Linked DNA regions of Homo sapiens: region 1 is linked to region 2. Evidence: promoter capture Hi-C in 16 types of primary human blood cells and fetal thymus (Javierre and others, 2016). All regions are on one chromosome and are shown on one strand. The core of a region is centred on a gene start or on the middle of the fragment in contact, and the rest is flanking DNA. Distances in the headings are between cores, read along the strand shown.

Region 1 (3,982 bases), core at 1,445-3,944, 140 kb before region 2:
CTGAAGATTGTGGTTTCCCCCCACAGCTGAAACTACTTCTCATTTGCCTGAGTAATTGTAACTAATATTAATTAAATTACCCTCGGCCTGGGGCTGGGCTGAACCTTCTATGAAAACCTTGACCCAGGGTCAGCTGATGATAAGAGTGCGGCAAGGCCTCACCCCTTACCACTCAGTTTAGAGTACGGCAGAGGGGCATCTTGAACCTGGGCTGTGACACTAATGGCTCACCCTTAGTGAGCTGAAGTCCCAGAGAATGAGCTGCACATTTCATATATGTTACAAATTTAATCTTCCATCTTTCACATTCGTCTATCTTCCCACTCTCAAGTATCCCCGGTGCCCCCGACATTTCTTCACTACCAAAGCCAAGGACACAGGAAGCCACAGACTAAGGAGTTCACAAGAAACTGATCTTTACTCAACAAAGTTCTACACAAGTGGAATCTCACGCCACCTCGGCGCCAATCCCCAGCACAGCACAGTAACAAATGGACAGACCCGGGAGCCCGCAGGGGGAAGAGGGTGAGGAGGGAAAGAGGGACTGTGGCTCAAGGCCAGTCTGGGTCCACAGCCCTGGGTAGGGGAGAAGGTTGAGAAGCTGAAACTTCATTGTGCAAAAAACAACCAAAAATAAATTAAAAAATTAAATAGTTTTTTTTTAAAAAAAAAAAAAAAAAGGAAAACGAGAAGAACCAGGCTCCCCTTCCCTGAAGGTGTTTGTATCCCCCCATCTTGAGTAGCGAGGGGTTACCAATCCCATCAGACAGCCAATCCATCCACACACCCCAAGACCCAGCAGAGGATGCTTCAAAGAACTGGAATTACCAGAAAATTAAAAGGTATTTTTAAAACTTTTTTTTTTTTTTTTAACAAATGGCTTCCAGAGACCTGCTCGAGTTTCATGGGGTGGGCGTGCAGGGACACCCAGCTAATTTATGGAATGTGTACTGAGTGCCCCTTGGAATAGATGCAGGGCCTGACCCTGACTATGGAAAGACACAGGGCTTGGATGGAGGGTCTGGCGCCCAGGAGGGATGGATGGAGCAGGCCCCAGGATGCGAGACTCCAGTCAGACTCCAAAACACAAGGGGCTCCCCAAAGAAGTAGAAAGCAGGGAAGGAAAAAAAGGGAAAAAATGCTAAGGGGGTCTGCAAGGCCCAGTTTTCTGGCCAACTGGGAAGTAACTACACCCCCACCCTCTCTAGGGGAGCCCCTTCCACCTTGACCATGTTCCCAGACTATTCCGGAAGGTTCTCTAGAATTGCTGACCCAGTCTAGTAGGATCTCTGGGCTCACTGGGTACTATGATGAGCAGGAAGTCCCAGGGAGATGGAATAGGGAACAGGGGACACACCACCTTTCCCTTCCACCAAGCCTTGGTTTTCCTTTTTGCTGGCAAAAACCTGTGTCCTCTGTCATCATCAATTAAACGCCCCTGCCCCAGGCCTTGAGTTAAAACTGGGGCCTGAAACGTGAGAAGGGGGTTTCAGAAGCACAGAGAAACGGACTGCCCCTGAAGCTGCTTACAGAGAGAGATGCTCGGGGTAGGTGCCAGTAGCTCTGGCTACACCCAGCTCTCTTCAGGAAAAAGGTCCCAACCCAGTGTCTTCAAAAGCCACTGGAGCACACAGGAAGGAGAAACGGTGACCTCTGGCCAGCCCCAGCCACTCCAGTGGTTCTCACCCTGCGAGCTAGGCTAGGATAAGGACGGAGACACCACCAGCTGAGGCTGCAACAAAGCTGGCAGGGAGTGTGTGGAGTGGGTCCCAAGCATGTGCGTGCTGACAGGGCGACTCCCAAGGTCACCATCCTCCTCCCCCCGCCCCGAGATCCCGCCTGAGGCCCCCCACCCACCCAGCCCTCCCCAGTCACCGCCAATTCCGGCAAAACAGCAGAAGCTTCTTAAACTCTAGATGCAGGTTACACGGAAGGCCTTACGGGTTAACTCAGGGGTTCACTAATTCTACTGTCTCCATGCAGTCGGGGAAATGGTGGAGCGGCTGGCCCAGCCTCGCCGGTTATGGCACCCGCACATGCGTGTGGCCATGTGTGTCCGTGTGAGTGTACGCGTCCCTACGAGGGCCCCCCTCCTGACCTGCTCCTCCCTCACCTCATCCGAAGCCGGATTCGGTCAGCTGTGTAATTCCTCCCTCCCACGTAGCTGGCCCAAGTGGGCTGCCAGAGATGACCCTATTAGAGCCCAGGGGCCCTTGCCCACCAGAAGTCCCCCCCACCTCCCCGTTTGTAGGATGAGCATGGTGGCCCCACCCACCTGCCAGGAGGGCAAGTGGACGGATGGACGGACGGACGGACGGACGGGGAAGGCATCTGGATTTGAGTCCCACTCACTCCTCCCTAACCCCCCTCAACCAGGGCACAGCGACTTCCGGATGCAGCGCACTCCCCAGTAATCCCTCCGACGACGACGCAGACAGAAACCTGCAGGGGGAGGAGGAAGGTCATGGCCTGGGACCTTTCGGCCCCCAAGACAGTGCTGACTTGCCAGCTGCAGTCTCCTTACCTGGCAGTCTCCATGATCACCTAGACCCCATAGAAAGCCGCCAGCCTCTCCTTGAGCAGCGGCGGGAATTGCTCAGAGAACTGCTGCCAGTTATCTTCCCCAACTTGGTCTTTGAAGCCGTGGAGAATCTGTGGGGAGGGTGGTGGTGAGGGGTAGGCAGGGGCAGAACAAGGGGAGTGCGCCTCTTCCCCCATCCCCAGGCCCCATTGTTACCAGATGGTCTCACCCCTGCCTGCTCCCGGAACTAGATCAGGGCCCAGACAGAGCCTCACCTTATAAAACATGTCCCGAAGGTCATCCTTCGGGCTCACCCAGGAGGCTACAGCATCGCAGAAGAAAATAAAGTCCTGAAACGTGACGGATCCCAGGTGAGGGGCCGCCCGAGCCCAGCGCCCGCGCCTGCCCTCAGAGCCCAGCTGCCCCAACCTGCACAACGCCCCCCGGGTTGACACCGATCATCATGCAGATGCCGCGGAAGGCTGAGTCCTTCTCCTCGTTGTCCCTGATGTTCCTGAGGGACGTGCACCTGTGGGAAGGTGAGCAGCTGGAGGTCAGAGGGCAGGCTGGGCATGCATCTGTGGAGGGCTGGGTCACTGGGGATCAGTGAGTGGGCCTGGGACATGCATCTGTGGGGGTGGGGCAGGGCAGGGAGTCAGTAGGCAGATGGGGCTGGAAATGCACAGGCGAGGGAGGGGGTTGGGCCAGTCCCGCCCACCACACAGCAGGCTTGACACGTGGACACACACCAAGGCCGGATGAACTGCTGCAGCATGGGTGCCACCTCCTGGGGGCACACGTAGCCCAAGCGGCCGATGGTGATGGCTGGAATGGCAGAGGGACTCGTCAGGCGACCTGCAACCCCGAGCGGCCCCGGGACGGTACGTGGCGGGGCCTCTGGCACAAGGCACCAAGCCCCGCCCCATGAGCCCCAAGGGAATGGCTACTGCAGCCACCCTGGTCCCCCAAGCTTGGCCCAGCCAGGGGTCCTCCTCATCACACCTGAGTCACTTCCCAGGTCTCTCTGCATCTATCTTTCTTTCTTTCCTTTCCCTTTCCTTTTTGTTTTTTTTTGTTTTGTTTTGTTTTTGAGATGGAGTCTTGCTCTGTTGCCCAGGCTGGAGTGCAGTGGCATGATCTTGGCTCATTGCAACCTGCCTCAGCCTCCCGAGTAGCTGGGATTGCAGGCACGTGCCATTACCCCCGGCTAATTTTTGTATTTTTTAGTAGAGATGGGGTTTCACCATGTTGGCCAGGCTGGTCTCGAACTCCTGACTTCAGGTGATCTGCCTCCCAAAGTGCTGAGATTACAGGCATGAGCCACTGCACCCAGCCTGAGGCTGCATCTTTCTTGGGGCTTCTCCCAGTGACCCCTTCCAGGTACTTCCAGACACCCTCCTTGGTTCCTTGACAAGGCTCTTTCTGATGCCCTTCCCAGCCCAGAACCCCACCTCCAGAAGG
Region 2 (4,115 bases), core at 124-2,623:
TTCCATTTTTATTTTTTTATTTTTTAAACTTTTTATTATTTATTTATTTATTGTTAATTGAGAGGGTGTCTTACTCCAGCAGTGGTGCAATCATAGTTCACTATAACCTCGACCTCCTGAGCTCAAGAGATTCTCCCACCTCAGCCTCCGTGGTTCCCATTTTAAATCTCAGTTGTGAGTCACTCTACTTACCTACCCCCCACCCCCTACCCCAACTCTATGACTCTAGCTGGGAGTCAGATAGATCTGCTGAGGTGTAGATGAGTCATTCATTCTTTCAACCTTTCATTCATTCAACCTTTCATTCATTCATTGAGTACGCTAAGCTTATTCCCGCCTCCAGGCCTTTGCCCTTGCAGTTCCCTCCACCTGGAATGCTCTCTCCACAGATCCTCCCATGGCTGGCTCTTATCTTTCAGCAACCAGCTTAAAAGTCACCTCCACAGAGCAGCCCTGTCTGACAATGTGTCTCCATCCTAGCCATTGTCCATCACATCACCCTGTTTAATTTATTCATAAGACTAATTATTGTCTAAAATGATTTCGTTCACTTCTACACTAATCTTGTTTAATGTCCCCTTTACCCTATAAATACTAGTCCCAAAAGGCCAGAAACTTTTTTTTTTTTCTCCTTGAGACAGAGAGTCTTGCTGTGTTGCCCACGCTGGTGTTTCCTTGGACTCAAGCGATTCTCCTGCCTCAACCTCCCAAGTAGCTGGGACTAGAGGTGCACACCACCACACCGGACTTGTAATTTATTCACTACTGTGTCCCTAGTGCCTAGGATTGGGTCAGCATACAGTAGGTGCTCAAGACATATTTTTCAAATAATGATTCCTATTTCATTTGCACAAACACACGCTGATATGCCAACTCACTTGCCTTTATATGGCGCCCCGCCTGTGTACGTGGGCCTCTGTTGGTCTCTGAGGGTCAGGAGAGGAATCACCCAGGGATCCTCTCCCCCAAGAAACTTGGCCCGCAGTGCATGGCCAAGGGTGAAAGTGACAGTGCTGAAGAGGGGCCTGTCTTACCCTGCTTCTGCTCCTCCAGGGAGTTGATAATGCTTGTGGGCAGCAACGGCAGGTCCACGCTGACCTTCATCGTTTTGCCCCTTTGCCTTCCAGAAGGATTTGCCCCTGCCCCGGAAAAGCAGCAGGTGAGCCTGGGGAGAGACGTGGCGGGGGCTGGCCGCCCCTTCTCCCGCCGGGGTGGGGGCGCCAGGCGAGTGCGCGGGCGGGGCCTGGCTCGCCGGCACGCAGCAGCGCCCCCTCCCGGCCGGCTGCAGCCGCAGGGCCCTCCCCTTCCCTGCCCTCCCCTGCCCGCTGCGGCGGCTGCAGCCTCCGCCCCGCGCGCTTGCTCCCCGCGCCGCCGCCGCCGCCGCCTCCGCCGCTGCTGCCGCACCTGCCACCATGTCGCCGCCGCCGGGTCATGTCTGACTCTCTCTGGACCGCGCTTTCTAATTTCTCGATGCCCTCCTTCCCCGGCGGCAGTATGTTCCGCCGCACCAAGAGGTAGACCCCCGATCCCCTAGACATTGTCCCGGCCCTCCCCGCAAAAGCCGCCGCTCCGGGTACTGCTGCAGGGCGGGGCCCGGGATGCTGCGCCCGGTCCAGCTGCGCCAGAGGTGCCCCAGCTGCGCCTTCCCGCCGGGGTTGGGGTTGAATGGGGGGTGGTGTGGGCCGAGTCTGGGGGGCTTGCACGCTGGAGAGGACGGCCGCGGGGGGAGGGGGCTGCGCCACTGGGGGTTTGTGGCGCCTTTGTCTGCTGGCGCTGCGGGCTCCAACAGCCTGGTGGGGGTAGAGGAAGAAGGGGAGGCTGGGGGGCTTGGCACCCTCAGAACAATAGCCGCAGCCTGGCCTCCCCCCACCCCCATGCCGCGTGCTCCTGGACGCGCTAATATGCTCAGTCACTGCGGCTGTGGGTGAGGGGACGGACGGAGGGGCTTGGGGCTCCCTCTTCGGGAGCTGGATGCTGAGGGGTAGAAAAAAGGGGGGGTTTATCATAACACAACCCCCCCCCCCGAACACAGCCTTACACTGAAAATAGTGACACACAGCGTCACACAGGACATGATGTCACACACATACACACAACAGCCCTAGTGGCCCAGATACACTGGGAGGTGCCACACATACCTAGCCTTGCAGCTGCCACAGGTCAGAACCATGCACAGACACACAGGGGCACCACGTCGTGTACACCTAGTAAGATGTCACTTACATGGCGATCCACACACACACAGTTATGTCATCCAAGATGCAAACATGTGTTTCAATATCCCATCCATGCATCCAAGAATGTCACAACACACGATGTCATATCTAGGTATCTCACATACTATGTCACACTGACATCAGGATAAACAGATGTAGGGATCTTGCAGAGACAGAACCACGCAAAATCACATGTTATCACATTGCAAGACTCACCTAGAGAATGTCAAATGTGGTGACATGTTTGGACACAGTGTCACAAGATGTTAAATTCACACAATAGATGCTACATACACATGGACAAGCATGGTGAATGTCACACCCAGACGGAAGGACAGTATCGGACACAGACTCAGAATGCCACACAAAGACATAGATACATGTAGGGGGGATCATGCATCCTGGCCAGGCATGGTGGCAGGCACCTGTAGTCCCAGCTACTCAGGAGGGTGAGGTGAGGCGGGAGGATTGCTTGAGCCCAGGAGTTTGAGGCTGCAGTGAGCCACTGCACACTGCACTCCAGCCGGGCGACAGAGCGAGACATTGATTTAAAAGAAAAAAAATAATAATAATACAACCTGCCTGTGTTACAGCACACATTGTTATGGACAAGTGGCATTTCACACTGTGTCACATAGACACACAAATGCTCAAATTGTATCACACAAGATAAACCCACGTTGTGTCACACGTATCACACTAGAATGCATTCAGCGTCACACATTGTTGAATTCATACAGTGGATACCACACGTGGATACCTACAGTGAATGTCACGCATAGACTGAGACACGCTCAGTATCACCAATGGTGTCACCTAGACACAGTGACTATCACACCATGACAGACACTGCCCTACACATAATCCATACTGAGAGTTTCTCACACACATGTCATATGCACATCCCCTGCCGTACACAGTCCTGCCGAGGCCTGCACCACCTTTCTTCGAGAAACCCTCCCAGGGAGCCTCCAAACACACATGGATGGGAGATAGGCGGGGATCTGAGACAGGAGGTCAGCTGGTGGGGCTCAAGAACTCACTGGGCTGCGGCCCGGCCCGGCCCCCCTGCCTTACCTTCCCCGCAGCTGCCGCACCAGTAATCGGAAAAGCCTCATCCTGACCAGCACTTCACCCACGCTACCGAGACCCCACTCCCCGCTGCCAGGTCACCTAGGTGAGGCCAGTGGTAGAGACTTGGTGGGTGCAGACTGGCCTACAGTAGGCGGGGCCTCAGGCGAGGAAGCGTGGTCATGCTACAGAAGGGGCGCAGTTTGAATGGAGGCGAACCAGTTTGGATAAGGGGCGGGGCCATGCTTGTGTGGGTGTGGTCAGTCGCAGAGGGACGGTCATTGGGGGGCGGAGACTCAGGTGGGCGGAGACTCAGGTGGGACGGACAGAAAGGAGGAGTCGTACCTGAGGGGCGGGGCCATCCCAGATGAAGCCAGAATCGTCTTGGAAGGGGCCAGGCTGACTCGGCAACGAAAAAATTTAGAGAGGCGGGGCCACAGGCGAAGGGGCGTGGTCTCCCCATAATAGGCGGGACTAGACTAAAGACAGGACATGCTGCTGTTTGCACGCCGCTTTAGGGAACGAGAGACCTGACAGGATTTGCCCCCTCTTTCTCTCATAGGCAGCAGTCCCCTGGACAGCCCCCGAAACTTCTCCCCCAACACCCCCGCCCACTTCTCGTTTGCCTCCTCCCGAAGGTGAGTCCCTCCCCTCCAGGGCCCCAGAACCCTGGGCAGACCCTCCCCAACCACTGTCTGGGCCGCCATCTGTTCTCCTCCTAATTGCACCCGAGCTGGGGCCTGAGGGGACCAGCGAGTGCCCCAAGGTCTCAGCGGGAAGGAGCGCCTAGCCTTCGGGGCGGGGCCTATAAGAAGGCGGGGTCCAATC

What was found. The method cuts DNA at HindIII sites, captures the fragments that hold promoters and counts their contacts. A CHiCAGO score of 5 or more calls a contact.
Region 1: a contact is called between a fragment that was not itself captured here and the fragment with the promoter of MAST1 in region 2, in 1 of 17 cell types (erythroblasts). The highest score is 7.1, in erythroblasts.

What each region holds. Positions count from the first base shown.
Region 1 is chr19:12,698,802-12,702,783 of GRCh38, forward strand. TNPO2 (transportin 2) reads right to left here. Exons shown (of 26, transcript NM_001382241.1): 22 at 3,271-3,376; 23 at 2,951-3,050; 24 at 2,797-2,871; 25 at 2,525-2,652; 26 at 400-2,442. The coding sequence ends at 2,545. Among named protein-coding and RNA genes, the nearest start is that of SNORD135, 2.9 kb to the right of the region's middle. RefSeq lists enhancers at 2,337-3,536, 2,814-3,423. The HindIII fragment of the contact is 1,590 bases long and covers 1,900-3,489 here.
Region 2 is chr19:12,837,142-12,841,256 of GRCh38, forward strand. It overlaps MAST1 (microtubule associated serine/threonine kinase 1), which reads left to right and starts at 1,374. Exons shown (of 26, transcript NM_014975.3): 1 at 1,374-1,514; 2 at 3,305-3,393; 3 at 3,850-3,925. The coding sequence starts at 1,432. RefSeq lists silencers at 987-1,170, 1,175-1,354, 1,405-1,454 and an enhancer at 3,361-3,420. The HindIII fragment of the contact is 9,607 bases long and covers 325-4,115 here.